Regions from separate parts of the Homo sapiens genome. Here region 2 is linked to region 1. The links are contacts of gene promoters, found by promoter capture Hi-C in blood cells and fetal thymus (Javierre and others, 2016). All regions are on one chromosome and are shown on one strand. The core of a region is centred on a gene start or on the middle of the fragment in contact, and the rest is flanking DNA. Distances in the headings are between cores, read along the strand shown. Region 1 holds the start of ZNF669 (zinc finger protein 669). Region 2 overlaps ZNF496-DT (ZNF496 divergent transcript).

Region 1 (7,369 bases), core at 1,866-4,365:
TGGCATGAAAATCTGAAATAGCCTTTTGAGCCGCATCTTACAAACGGGCAATAAAATCTGGATAAGGCTCCCTTGGACCCTGTCGAACTGAGTTAAAACACGGATAAGTTGTACCAGGGTTGTGAATTTTTTCCCAGGCTCTTAGGCATATAGTTCTGACCTGATCAACAACCTCATCACCCATTACCATTCTGTTGATTTAGAGTACCCCATGTGATTCCAAGCAATTGATCAGATGTGATATTAACGGGACGTTGGACTTGAGCATTTCTGCATGCCCGATTTGTTGCTTCATCTGTCCACCAGGTTTTAAATTGGAGAAATTCAGAGGGGGACGGAGTGGATTGGGCTAGTGCCTCCCAATCCATAGGTATTAAACGCCTGTTATAAGCCACAGATTGTAACAAGGAATGAACATAAGGAGAATTTGGCCCATATTGTCCAATTGCTTGCTTTAAGTATTTTAATATTTTAAAAGGAAGTGGCTGCCAGCATGCTTGAGCATGTTCTCTGGGCTCCTCAACTGGCGAATTAATTACCAGAAACTGCAAAGCATCCAAATCCCCCATTTCTCATGCCTGGCGAATGGATGACGGGATTGTCCCCGTGCCATAATTTGTATTTGGACCGGCTCGCAGCATTCCTCTACCACAATTAACAGGTGGTAGAGGATCATTCCCTGATCGTAATTGGCTGTTAGGCGAGCCTGAAGCTTCCCTTCGCCATAGTTATTGGTGGGGCCTGCAACAATGGGAGCGGCAAGCCGCGTCTCAGGCTCCAGTTCCAAAAATTTGTAAGGCTGAGCCGGGGGTGGCCATTCCAGACCTTCCCCTAAAGGCGAAGTAGGTGGCACTGTTTCTTTTATAAGTTTTTGGAGATTAGCATATATACCTTCCCGTTTCTCGGCCTTTTTAAAACTAGACTGTGATGGTTGATTTTGCTGATCATTAGACTCCTGATTATTAAAGTTTTCTATGTCATCCTGAAGCTCCTCCTCAGTGTGGAAGGGCTCCAGTGCTGTTTTAATTGCAGGCCACGCAGACCAAGCAAGAAGGGAATATCGTGGCCCTCTTGTTGTGCTCGTTTTAAGTCTGATCCGACCTTGTCCCAGTCTTTTACATTCATGGTTCCATATTCCGGGAACCAAAGAGAATACTTTTTTACCAGATAGAACAAAGATGGGAGATTTTGGGTACTCACAATTACCCCTCCGCGGCGCAGTAACTGCCGGACAAGGCTTCAGTAATTAGCAAACTTACTCTCAGCCTGACCCATAGTTTCCGGAGGTTACCCTGGAATTTTCCGAGCGCCCTACTTACCTGTAGAGCTTGAAGTGAAAACGTACTCGGGCGTCCTTTGTCAGTCATCCTCCACTTTCCACTCTCTGGCATTCCTTCACTGGATTATTTGTAGAGATTACCGGGAGCCCGGCGTTGGGCACCAGAGACCAGCCTGGGCAACTGAGGGAGACCCCATTTCTACGAAAAAAAAAAAAAAAAAATTAGGCAGGCGTGGTGTCCAGTGCCTGTAATCCCAGCTACTCCATGAGAGATTGGACAAAACCTGGGACCAGAGACTGATTTTCTTCTAAAATGCTTTCTCCAAAATATTTTTAAAAGAAAAGGGGGAAATTGGAAAGGAAAATGTTTTGAGCCCCCCAGATCACTAAGCTAAAGGGGAAAGTCAATCTGGGAACTGCTTAGGGCAAACCTGCCTCCCATTCTATTCAGAGTCATCCCCTGCTCACTGAGATGAATGCATATCTTATTGCCTCCTTTGGAAAGGCTAATCAGAAACTCAAAAGAATGCAACCGTTTGTCTCTCACCTACCTGTGACCTGGAAGCCCCCTCCTGGCTTCGAGTTGACCCGCTTTTGCTTCAGGTTGTCCCGGATCAAACCAGTGTTCATCTTACATATGTTGATTGATGTCTCCTGTTTCCCTAAAATGTATAAAGCTGTCAGATACAGTCAGTTTCTCTTCCAAGGTTTGGCATGTTAACTTTCTTGTTTTTTTGTTTTCGAACTCAACTTTCTTGTTCTCCATGCCTCCTTGCCCTTAGTTACTGTAAACAACCTTCCGTCAGTTCTAATCAATAACTCACATCTGTTCCCTTGGTTACCTGCTCTGCACCCATTTCTCCCTTGGAAACCGCAAGTCCCACCATTGTAACTCACATCCCCCTTCCCCCTTCCTTATTTGGGAAAATATTCACAAATAGCCAACCGGGTCAGTTTAGATCGTGCGGTCTGACCCCAGCCCATGCCAGAGGTAGGGACTGCGTTAGGAATAAAAACCCCTGCTTTCCTCTGTTCAGTGTGCTCTTGCGATCGTGATTGATGCGAGCAGCACGCTTCTGCAGAAGTAAATTGCGTTGCTGAGAAAACTTTCGCTTGAGTGCTGGTTTCACTTTGCGGCACCGAGCATTTCTCTCCAACAAAACCAAGCTGTGCTCTGACCACCTTGGGCACATGTCATCAAGGACATCCTGAGGCTGTGTCATGCATATGCATCCCCAACCTTGGCAAAATAAACGTTCTAAATACTCTTACCCCAAATGCTCAGGGAGACTGATTTGAATAATCATAAAACTCCAAGCCTGCACTCCAGCCTGGGAGACAGAGCAAGATTCTGTTTCAAAAAAATAAAATAAAATAAAAAAACTCCGGTCTCCCGCACAGAGGACACTGCGTGAATTACTCTTTCTCTATTGCTATTCCCCTGTCTTGAGAAATCGGCTCTGTCTAGGTAGCGGGCAAGGTGAACTCCCTGGGCAGTTACAGAACTGTCATTATATTGCTTCCAATTTTATATATATATATATATATAAAAGGCACAAATAGCTATAACTTGTATACAGGTTAAATGTGAATGTCCTTCTTGCATGGTCGGATCCCAGCGCAGGAAGGACGCACCGCCTACAAACCGCTAGGCCAAAAGCGGTCATTCTGACCTCATCCAGCCTCACGTGAGATCGCAATCTCCTGTCACTCAGGGCCTGAGGGGCGGGGCCTGAAGCCCCATCCAATCAGGGGCGCTGGGGTGGGGACCGTTCAATCAGGCGCGCCGCCGGAAAGGAGAGGGCGGCTTCCGGGATCTGCCTGGCGGTTGCTTTGTCTCTCCTTCGCCGGAGCCGGCTCTTCCTGTTAGTCTCCGCTGCTAGTTCTTGGCTCTGGGAGGCCCAGGTGGCTCTGCAGCAGCCTCTGCCACCCTGTGACCTGCGAGTATTGGGACATCCCTAGCTGACGCCAGGACACCCGGGAAGCCGAGGAATGGTGAGTGGACTGCGCCTGGCTTCCCGAAGTGGAGAAGAGGGCTGGTTGAAACCTGCTGTGGCGCGACTCGGGCCTCCACGCCATCGGCTCCGGAACCTGCGGACCGAGTCGCCGTGGCGTAGCCGGGGCTCAGTCCTCTTCTGTTCAGGGCCGGGCCGGGCGGGGCGGGCAGCGGAACCCCTGCATCCTGTCTGTACCTGCGGGCGCCACTTCCGCCGGCCGGAGCCCTGTCGGGAACCCCTCGCCTCCCCTATCCAGGTAGTGTGGTGACCACGGGAGGGTGATGCGGGAGAGCCCCGACTCGGTGTCTCGGTGTGCGGGGTTCCAGCATGGGAGGAGCTGTGGTTCATGGGGCTTCCAGTCCCACCTTTCTTCCCCTAAAATTAAGCCGAGGCTTTGTTAAAACGTTAAACCGTGTGTTTGAGCAAACGGCGATTCATAAACCAGGTACCGCAGTCATGGTTTGTGGTTTGGGGTCCACAGAAGGGGCGTAAATGAGAGGCTTTGATAAGGTTAATGAGGAAGCAAACCATATTCTTTTTTTTTTTTTTTTTTTTTTTTTTTGGAGACGGAATCTCGCCCTGTCGCCAGGCTGGAGTGCAATGATGCAGTCTCACTCATTGCAACCTCTGACTCCCGGGTTCAAGCGATTCTCCTGCCTCAGCCTCCCGAGTAGTTGGGATTACAGGCGCCCGCCACCACGCCCAGCTAATTTTTGTATTTTTGGTAGAGACAGGGTTTCGCCATGTTGGCTAGGTTGGTCTCGAACTCCTGACCTTAAGTGATCCGCCCGTCTCGGCCTCCTAAAGCGCTGAGATTACAGGCGTGAGCCACCGCGCTCGGCCAAAATATTTTTCTGTTTACAAACATTTTACATGAGAGGAAAGCGGAGAATAAACCATCTGACACTCTACTGTAAAAAAATCTTTGTGCCTCTCTTCATCTTTCCTAAGTGTGCATATTACCAAAATGTCTTTAGGTTGATGTCCCCCTGTGAAAACTTTACAGGGTGTTGTGTCCTCAGCCCTTGGTCTGCTTGCTCATCTCTCTGCTAATACTGTGCTGTCCTGAATATTTTTGGTTGAAAATCTTAAAAGTATGTTAGGCAAGACATAACTCTTTTTTTAGATGACTGAAAATCATTAGACATTTGTCATTTTTACTAGGTATGAAAAACTAGTTTTTCTTGCCTAAAAAAGCCTGATTTGGGAATTTATGTGATTTCACAGGAATAGCATCTGGAAGTGGTGACATTAATGTCATTTTAAAAAACATGTGCCATATTTCCTCTTATTCCATTCTGCCTTGACATTGTGCAATAGAAATTTAAAAATTGTATTAGTAAATTGTTAAATATCAATTATTGGTTTTATTTACTACTCAATTAAATTTAATAAGCCTATTCTCTCTTGGTGTAATCACATGGAATGGGCTCAACTCCCCAATTAACAAGTGACAGCACATATAAAATATTGTCTACCAGGGAAACTCATTAAACACTTAGTGTTCAGACTGTGTTTTGGTGTCTGGTTCCCTAAGCACCACTGCAGTGACACAAAATAATAGACCTTTAGCAGAAAAAGTTTTGGCAACTATATTGCATAAACCATTTAGATGCAGTGAGTCATTCTTATTACTTAGGTTGGTGGAATCCCTTTCAAAATGTAAGTTACTAATACAAACAAAGATTGAACTTTGTGAGCAGGCATTTTTAAGAATAAGTAGTCTTAGGACTGATATTATTAACTCACTTATGCACATCAGGTAGGACTTTATTATGGCAGATACTAGAAATGTACGAAGTGAAATTAAGAGGTAACCTAGCAGCACATCTTACTCCCTGGATTCTCTAATGAGATGGGTATTTCCACTTTGCTGTTGCCTTTTTGAATAGTTCAATTCTAGCATTAGTACTGCTGTGTGGGAGGGAGTATGTGTGAACAGAGTAAGAGTTGTGACAATCAAGTCATAGAATAAATGCTTGGAAATTATCAAATCATGTAAACAGCTTATGAATTGAGTATAGATTCCCAGTGCTGTCAGTCTCACCCATCCTTCTATCCACATGTGTGGAATGTTCTAGGACTCGGTGGCTTTTGAGGATGTGGCTGTGAACTTTACCCAGGAGGAATGGGCTTTGCTAGATTCTTCTCAGAAGAATCTCTACAGAGAAGTGATGCAGGAAACCTGCAGGAACCTGGCTTCTGTAGGTAAGAATGACAACACATTTCAGTTAATTACAGAAGTCTTTCCCTATCATCAGTGCTATTTATGATTTGGAATGTGGCAAGGGAATGATTTGGTGAATAAATCAGGCATGGGCACTGTGTACAGTGAACATTAAATCTAGTAATGTGTCTACAGTTTGTAATAATTCATGATAATTTTATGGGTCTGCATTTTAGGAAGCCAATGGAAAGACCAGAATATTGAAGATCACTTCGAAAAACCTGGGAAAGATATAAGGTAATTTGCACTGAGCAGAGGAAATAAAGTCCTCTGAAGGAATCTTAGCATGTCATGAACTTAAAAACAAGCAATCAAAACAAATAAGAGTCACTTGAAATTTATTTATTTTTAGAAAAATTTCACCCAAAATGTAACGTACTTCAATGTAGCAGTCAGTGTTTGCAAAAGAGTTTACTTGAAAATAGTACTACAAAACTGTGTATATGAATATTACTATTTTGGTCATAGCCATGCAGGTGGTAGCTGTGTTTTCAGTAGTAACCCATTTACTTTGAAATAATTCAGTCATGGCAAAAAAAAAAATGCATTTTCCCTGATATTGGTAGCAGTGTAAGTCCAAGACCTATTAATAAGTAGAAAGTTATTAATAAACCAACCAATAATAATGTGCTTGTCATTTTTTTACAGAAATCATATCGTACAGAGACTGTGTGAAAGTAAAGAAGATGGTCAGTATGGAGAAGTTGTCAGCCAAATTCCAAATCTTGATCTGAACGAGAACATTTCTACTGGATTAAAACCATGTGAATGCAGTATTTGTGGAAAAGTCTTTGTACGTCATTCCCTCCTTAATAGGCATATCCTAGCTCACTCAGGATACAAACCATATGGAGAGAAGCAATATAAATGTGAACAGTGTGGGAAATTCTTCGTTTCTGTTCCAGGTGTTAGAAGACACATGATAATGCACAGTGGAAATCCAGCTTATAAATGTACGATATGTGGGAAAGCTTTTTATTTTCTCAATTCAGTTGAAAGACATCAGAGAACTCACACAGGAGAAAAACCCTATAAATGTAAACAATGTGGTAAAGCATTCACTGTTTCCGGTTCTTGTCTAATACATGAACGAACTCACACTGGAGAGAAACCCTACGAATGTAAGGAATGTGGGAAAACATTCAGATTTTCTTGTTCTTTTAAGACGCATGAAAGGACTCACACTGGAGAAAGACCCTATAAATGTACCAAATGTGATAAAGCCTTCAGCTGTTCCACTTCCCTTCGTTACCATGGAAGCATTCATACTGGAGAGAGACCCTATGAGTGTAAACAATGTGGCAAAGCCTTTAGTCGTTTGAGTTCCCTTTGTAACCATAGAAGTACTCATACCGGAGAGAAACCCTATGAATGTAAACAATGTGATCAAGCCTTCAGTCGCCTCAGTTCCCTTCACCTCCACGAAAGAATTCATACTGGAGAAAAACCCTATGAATGTAAGAAATGCGGTAAAGCCTACACTCGTTCCAGTCACCTTACTCGCCATGAAAGAAGTCATGATATAGAGGCTGGGTGTAGTGACTCAGCCTATAATCCCAGCACTTTGGGAGGCCAAGGCGTGTGGATTGCTTGAGCCCAGGAGTTCATAACCAGCCTGGATTAAAACAATGTGAAACAACCTGGGCAACATGGTGAAACCCTGTCTTTACAAAAAATAAAATAATGCCGGGCACGGTGGCTTACGCCTGTAATCCCAGCACTTTGGGAGGCCGAGGCGGGTGGATCACGAGGTCAGGAGATCGAGACCATCCTGGCCAACACGGTGAAACCCCGTCTCTACTAAAAATACAAAAAATTAGCTGGGCGTGGTGGCAGACGCCTGTGGTCCCAGTTACTCGGGAGGCT
Region 2 (7,369 bases), core at 3,598-6,097, 260 kb before region 1:
GTGCACTCCACCATTCCCTGCTAACTTTTTGATTTTTTTGTAGAGATGGAGTCTCAGTTGTTGAGGCTGGCCTCAAACTCCTGTGTTACTGGAAAGGGGTCCCAATCTAGACCCCAAGAGAGGGTTACTGGACCTCCCACAAGAAAGAATACAGGGCGAGTCCATAGAGTAAAGTAAAAGCAAGTTTATTAGGGAAGTAAAAGAAACAAAAGAATGGCTACTGCATAGGTACAGCCGTGGTGTGAGCTGCTCAACCGAGTATACCTACAGTTATTTCTTGATTGTATGCTAAACAAGGGGTGAATTATTCATGAGTTTTCCGGGAAAGAGGACTGGATTTCCAGGAACTGAGGGTTCCTCCCCACTTTCAGACCATATAGGGTAACTTCTGGATGTTGCCATGGTATTTGTAAACTGTGGTGGTGCTGGTGGGAGTGTCTTTTAACACGCTAATGCCTTATAATAAGTATCACATAATGAGCAGTGAGGATTACCAGAGGTCACTTTCATCAGCATCCTGGTTCTGGTGGGTTTTGGCCGGCTTCTTTACCACATCCTGCTTTATCAGTGGGGTTGTTGTGACCTGTATCTTGTGCTGACCTCCTAACTCATCCTGTGACTAAGAATGCCTAAGCTCCTGGGAGCCCAGCAGTTCTCAGCTTTTTTTTACCCAGCCCATCTTCAAGATGGAGTCCCTCTTGTTCAAATATATCTGACATCTGGACTCAAGGAATCCTCCTGCCTTGGCCTCCCAAAGTACTGGAATTACAGGGTGAGCCACTGCACCCAGCCAAGAAAAGCATTTATACAGGCTAATTTTAGACACACAAACGCTGGTTTATTTTTGGTATGACTATTTCATGTTGTCTGATCTTTTTCCTTTCAGAAACATTCTTTTTTTTCCTGTGTCTCTGTCTTGCTGTCATAAAGATTCCCTCTCATCTTGCTTAATATCTTTTATGTCAGGCTCTCAAGAGCCTGACTTGTGACCAAGTGGGGAGCACTCTTGCTTGGTCTCTACCAACCCGGGGAGTGGTTGGGGGAGTGGCATGACTTTTGGGACTTTTGGGTCATGTGTGTTGGTCAGTTGTATTAGTCCATTTTCACTCTGCTTACAAAGACATACCCAAGACTGGGAAGAAAAAGAGGTTTAATTGGACTTACAGTTCCACATGGGCTGGGGAAGCCTCAGAATCATGGCAAAGGGCAAAAGCCACTTCTTACATGGCAGCAGCAAGAGAAAATGAGGAAGAAGCAAAAGTAGAAACCCCTGATAAATCCATCAGATCTTGTGAGACTTATTCACTATCACGAGAATAGCATTGAAAAGACCAGCCCCCGTGATTCAATTACTTCCCCTTGGGTCCCTCCCACAACATGTGGGAAATCTGAGAGGTACAATTCAAGTTAAGATTTGGGTAGAGGCATGGCAAAACCATATCATTCCACCCCTGGTGGCTCCAAATCTCATGTCCTCACATTTCAAAACCAATCATGCCTTCCCAACAGTCCCCCAAAGTCTTAACTCATTTCAGCATTAACCCAAAAGTCCATAGTCCAAAGCCTCATCTGAGAAAAGGAAAGTCCCTTCCACCTATGAGCCTGTAAAATCAAAAGTCAACTGGTTACTTCCTAGATACAATGGGGGTACTGGTATTGGGTGAATACAGCCGTTCCAAATGGGGGAAATTGGCCAAAACAAAGGGGTTACAGGGCCCATTCAAGTCTGAAATCCAGCAAGGCAGTCAAATTTTAAAGCTCCCAAAATGATCTCCTTTGACTCCAGGTCTCACATCCAGGTCACACTACTGCAAGTGGTGGGTTCCCATGGTCTTGGGCAGCTCTGCCTCTGTGGCTTTGCAGGATACAGCCTCCCTCCCGGCTGCTTTCATAGGATGGTGTTGAGTGTCTGCAGCTTTTCCAGGTGCATGGTGGAAGGTGTTGGTGGATCTAGCATTCTGAGGTCTGGAGGATGGTAGCCCTTTTCTCACAGCTTCACTAGGTGGTGCCCCAGTAGGGACTCTGTGTGGGGGCTCCCACCCCACATTTCCCTTCTGCATTGCCCTAGCATAGGTTCTCCATCGGGGCCCCACCCCTGCAGCAAACTTCTGCCTGGGCATCCAGGCATTTCCATATGCCCTTTGAAATCTAGGCAGAGGTTCTCAAACCTCAATTCTTGACTTCTGTGCACCCACAGGCTCAACACCACATGGAAGCTGCCAAAGCTTGGGGCTTCCACCCTCTTCTACCCTCTGAAGCCACAGCCTGAGCTGTACATTGGTCTCTTTCAGCTGGGACACAGGGCACCAAGTCCCCAGGCTGCACACAGCCTGGAGACACTGGGCCTAGCCCACAAAACCACTTTTTCCTCTGGGCCTCCAGGCCTGTGATGGGAGGGGCTGCCATAAAGGTCTCTGACATGGCCTGGAGACATTTTCCCCATGGTCTTGGGGATTAACATTAGGCTCCTTGCTACTTACTTGCAAATTTCTGTAGCCAGCTTGAATTTCTCCCCAGAAAATGGGTTTTTCTTTTCTCTTACATTGTCAGGCCACGAATTTTCCAAACTTTCATGCTCTGTTTCCCTTTTAAAACTGAAGGCTTTTAGCAGCACCCAAGTCACCTCTGGAATGCTTTGCTGCTTAGAAATTTTTTCCATCAGATACCCTAAACCATCTCTCTCAAGTTCAAAGTTCCACAAATCTCTAGGGCAGGGGCAAAGTGCCTTCATTCTCTTTGCTAAAACATAACAAGAGTCAGCCAGACTCGGTGGCTCACGCCTGTAATCCCTGCACTTTGGGAGGCCAACGTGGGTGGATCACCTGAGGTCAGGAGTTTGAAAACAGCCTGGCTAACATGGCAAAACACAGTCTCTACTAAAAATAGAAAAATTAGCGGGGAATGGTGGCGCACACCTGTAATCCCAGGTACTCGGGAGGCAGAGGCAGGAGAATTGCTTGAACTTAGGAGGCGGAGGTTGCAGTGAGCCGAGATGGCACCACTGCACTCCAGTCTGGGCAACAGCCAGTTCCCAACAAGTTCCTCATCTCCATCTGAGACCACATCAGCCTAGACCTTATTGTTCATATCACTATCAGTACTTTCGTCAAAGCCATTCAACAAGTCTCTAGGTAGTTCCAAACTTTCCCACATTTTCCTGCTTCTTCTGAGCCCTCCAACCTCTGCCTGTTACCCAGTTCCAAAGTTGCTTCCACATTTTCAGGCATCTTTTCAGCAATGCCCCCCTCTACTGGTACCAATTTACTATATTAGTCTGTTTTCATGCTGCTTACAAAGACATACCCGAGACTGAGAAGAAAAAGAGATTTAATAGGACTTACAGTTCCGCATGGTTGGGGAGGCCTCAGAATCATGGCGGAGGGCGAAAGGCATGTCTTCCATGGCGGCGGCAAGAGAAAATGAGGAAGAAACAGAAGCAGAAACCCCTGATAAACCCATCAGATCCCATGAGACTTATTCACTATCATGAGAATAGCATGGGAAAGACCAGCCCCCTATGATTCAATTACCTCCCCCTGGGTCCCTCCCACAATACGTGGGAAATCTGGGGGATACAATTCAAGTGGAGATTTGGGTGGGGGCACAGCCAAACCACATCACCAGTCTAAAAAGACTGGGAACCCCCTGACAAGTAAGATACTAAGCAGCACACTCTGCTCTGAATGTGCCGAGCACTCAAGGTCATTTGTATTAAGTCCCATACATAAGGGACTTTTGTCATGGCAATGCTTGTTTGTCCCTGTTAGTCCTGGGAAAGTCCAATCACAGGAGTTATCACAGATTAACAGGTCTGTGGCTGGCAGCCTCTCACAAATTTGTGGGATACTTAAGGCACCCCATGAGTAAACACCATCCTTAGCTGTCTATGGCAGCAAGCCTCTTGCTAGCTTAGCCTATTTCTTTTTTGAGACAGAGTCTCGCTCTGTCACCAGGCTGGAGTGCAGTGGCATGATCTCGGCTCACTGCAACCTCTGCCTCCCAGGTTCAAGTGATTCTCCTGCCTCAATCTCCTAAGTAGCTGGGATTACAGGCATGCGCCACCACATCTGGCTAATTTTTTGTTATTTTCAGTAGAGATGGGGTTTCACCATGTTGGCCAGGCTGGTCTTGAACTCCTGACCTCAGGTGACCTACCTGCCTCAGCCTCCCAAAGTGCTAGGATACAGGTGTGAGCCACCAGGCCCGGCTATCTTAGCCTATTTCTGAGAATGTGTTTTTTGGGAAGGATCATAGGAGGGGGTGCATCTTCTGCACTCATTTTATTTTATTTATTTTATTTTATTTTTTGAGATAGAGTCTCGCTCTGTCTCCCAGGCTGGAGTGCAGTGGCATGATCTCGGCTCACTGTAAACTCCGCCTCCTGGGTTCACGCCATTCTCCTGCCTCAGCCTCCCGAGTAGCTGGGACTACAGGCGCCTGCCACCATGCCCAGCTGATTTTTTGTACTTTTAGTAGAGATGGGGTTTCACCATGTTAGCCAATATGGTCTCGATCTCCTGACCTTGTGATCCGCCTGCTTCGGCCTCCCAAATTGCTGGGATTACAGGCGTGAGCCACCGCACCCGGCCCATTCATTTTAAATACACCACAAACACCTATGCTCTTCTAAACCTGGAAAGCTACCTCCAGAACTTTCCATAAAAAAATGATTATTGGTTTGAGTCACTTATGGAATAAATAAATTGGCTGGAATCAACCTAGGTGCCCATCAACAGTGGATTGGATAAAATGTGGTACGTATACACTACGGAATACGACACAGCCATAAAAAGCAACAAAACTGTGTTCTTTGCAGCAATGTGGATGCAGCTGGAGGCCATTATCTTAAGTGAACTAACGCAGAAACAGAAAATCAAATACTGCATGTTCTCACATTTTTTTTCTTTTTTTTGAGACGGAGTTTCACTCTTGTTACCCAGGCTGGAGTACAATGGTGTGATCTCGGCTCACTGCAACCTCGGCCTCCCAGGTTCAAGTGATTCTCCTGCCTCAGCCTCCCAACTAGCTGGGACTACAGGCATGCGCCACTACGCCTGGCTAGTTTTGTATTTTTAGTAGAGACAAGGTTTCTCCATGTTGGTCAGGCTGGTCTTGAACTCCCAATCTCAGGTGATCCGCCTGCCTTTGCCTCCCAAAGTGCTGGGATTACAGGCGTGAGCCACCGCACCCGGCCACATTCTCACTTATAAGCGGAAGCTAAACGTTGGATACACATGGACATAAAGATGGAAACAATAGTCACTGGGACCTGCTAGAGCAGGGAGAGTAGGAAAGTAGGAGAGTGAGAGAGGGGAGAGGAGAAGGGGAGAGTGAGAGAGGGGGAGAGGAGAAGGGGAGAGAGAGAGAGGGGGAGAGGAGAAGGGGAGAGTGAGAGAGGGGAGAGGAGAAGGGGAGAGTGAGAGAGGGGAGAGGAGAAGGGGAGAGTGAGAGAGGGGGAGAGGAGAAGGGGAGAGAGAGAGAGGGGGAGAGGAGAAGGGGAGAGGTGGAGGGAGAGGGGGACAAGAGTTGAAAAAGTACCTATCGGGTACTATCCTCACTACCTGGGTGAAAGGATGCTTTGCACCCCAAACCTCAGCATCATGCAATATACCCATGTAACAAATCCACACATGTATCCCCTGAATCTAAAATAAAAGTTGAAATTTTGAAAAAACATAATAAATAAGTTAAAAAGTTATATTTTAAAAGAAAACTTTTTAGAGAGCTCTTGTCTCTTTTTTTTTTTTTTTTGAGACAAGGTCTCACTCTGTCGCCCAGGCTGGACTGCAGTGGCGCAATCTCTGCTCACTGCAACTTCAGCCTCCCGGGTTCAAGCAATTCTCCTGCCTCAGCCTCCCCAGTGGCTGAGATTACAGGTGCGCACCACTATGCCCAGGTAATTTTTTTTTTTTTTTTTTTGTATTTTTAGTGGAGACAGGGTTTCACCATCTTGGCTAGCTGGCCTCGAACTGCTGACCTCAGGTGATCCATCTGCCTCAGCCTCCCAAAGTGCTGGGATTACAGATGTGAGCCACCGCGCCCGGCCACTAAGAGCTCTTGTCTTAAACAGCTTTCTTATTGGTACCTATGAAAAGACACAAAAGGAATATATAGCCTTAGAAACTCCCTTAGCAGGATTTCTTTTTTTAAGGCAGAAATCAGATTTACAACTAAGTTATAAATCCTTTGTGTAGCTGGATTCACTGATTTATGCCTGTAATCCCAACACTTCGGGAGGTCAAGGAAGGCTTGCTTGAGCCTAGGAGTTTGAGAACAGACTGGGCAACATAGGGAGATCCCATCTCTACAAAATAAATAAACAAATAAATGAGTCAGGCATCGTGACACACGCCTGTGGTCCCAGCTACTCAGCCAGGGGTAGGCAGGAGGACTGCTTGAGCCTAGGAGGTTGAGGCTGCAGTAAACCATGAGCACACCACACTGCACGCCAGCCTGGGTGACAGAACGAGACTTTGTCTCAAACAAATATATATATATGATATAAAAAATATATATTTCTAACATGTATATGTTATATATGTATAATATATATCACATATAATATATATGTCACATATATAATATATATATCACATATATAATATATATGTCACATATATAATATATATGTCACATATATATATATATATATATATATATATATATATATATATATATATAGTGCGCCCAAGCTGCCTGTTTTGGATCCCCCTGGGATTTACAAAGAAGACGGGCCACCCTAATCTAGGGCCTGGGTTCCATGCTTTCACCACCACAGCCTGGATTTGATTCCCAGTCAGGAAACCAGACTCTTGGAAATGCAAATCTTTTAACTCAGGACAAAACAAATAGAAACATTTGTAAAAAGTTAGTTTGGTATTTGCATAACTCTGACCTTTTGGGGTACCCTTTCACTTTGCAATCCTGTCTATTCCCACAGACAGCTTTTGACTTCCCATCTTACAAACTGCCATGCAATCTTCCGTCTGTGGGAGATACGGGTTGTCAGGCCTTTGTGTGCAGTCAGCCAGCTGAGAGGCTGAAACCCTAGATAATATGGCCAGACAGTAGCCCCATTTGCAGCTACTAAAATTCTCCTTTATTTGAGCTGCCTGGAGTGGTCTGGATCTGAGCAGGGTTGCAACTTTTGCCTCCTCTCTGGAGACCTTGGTGAAAGCCGTGAAAGGCTTCTTGGTTCTGGTCTCCTTGGTGCTTATTTCACTTGGCGTTGAGTCATTTGTTCAGGTATACCTTTGATAGAAAACTGGTTTGTATTTAGAGTGTGATAGCAACTTTTTTCTTTTGTCTCGCTTCCTCCCGTGGGCAGAAGAGACGTGTGTCTCCCACCACTGCTGGGAAGCTGAAGAGA

The links. The method cuts DNA at HindIII sites, captures the fragments that hold promoters and counts their contacts. A CHiCAGO score of 5 or more calls a contact.
Region 2: a contact is called between a fragment that was not itself captured here and the fragment with the promoter of ZNF669 in region 1, in 2 of 17 cell types (M2 macrophages and M0 macrophages). The highest score is 7.0, in M2 macrophages.

Annotation. Positions count from the first base shown.
Region 1 is chr1:247,100,102-247,107,470 of GRCh38, reverse strand. ZNF669 (zinc finger protein 669) reads left to right here and starts at 3,115. Exons shown (of 4, transcript NM_001142572.2): 1 at 3,115-3,274; 2 at 5,358-5,484; 3 at 5,680-5,740; 4 at 6,152-7,369. The coding sequence starts at 3,272. The coding sequence ends at 7,097. It overlaps FLJ39095 (a long non-coding RNA gene), which reads right to left and starts at 2,960. Exons shown (of 3, transcript NR_147502.1): 1 at 1,831-2,960; 2 at 1,320-1,478. RefSeq lists an enhancer at 2,870-3,164. The HindIII fragment of the contact is 5,762 bases long and covers 715-6,476 here.
Region 2 is chr1:247,361,256-247,368,624 of GRCh38, reverse strand. All of the region lies in intron 1 of ZNF496-DT (ZNF496 divergent transcript), which reads right to left. Among named protein-coding and RNA genes, the nearest start is that of ZNF496-DT, 33 kb to the right of the region's middle. RefSeq lists an enhancer at 5,447-5,991. The HindIII fragment of the contact is 5,240 bases long and covers 2,228-7,369 here.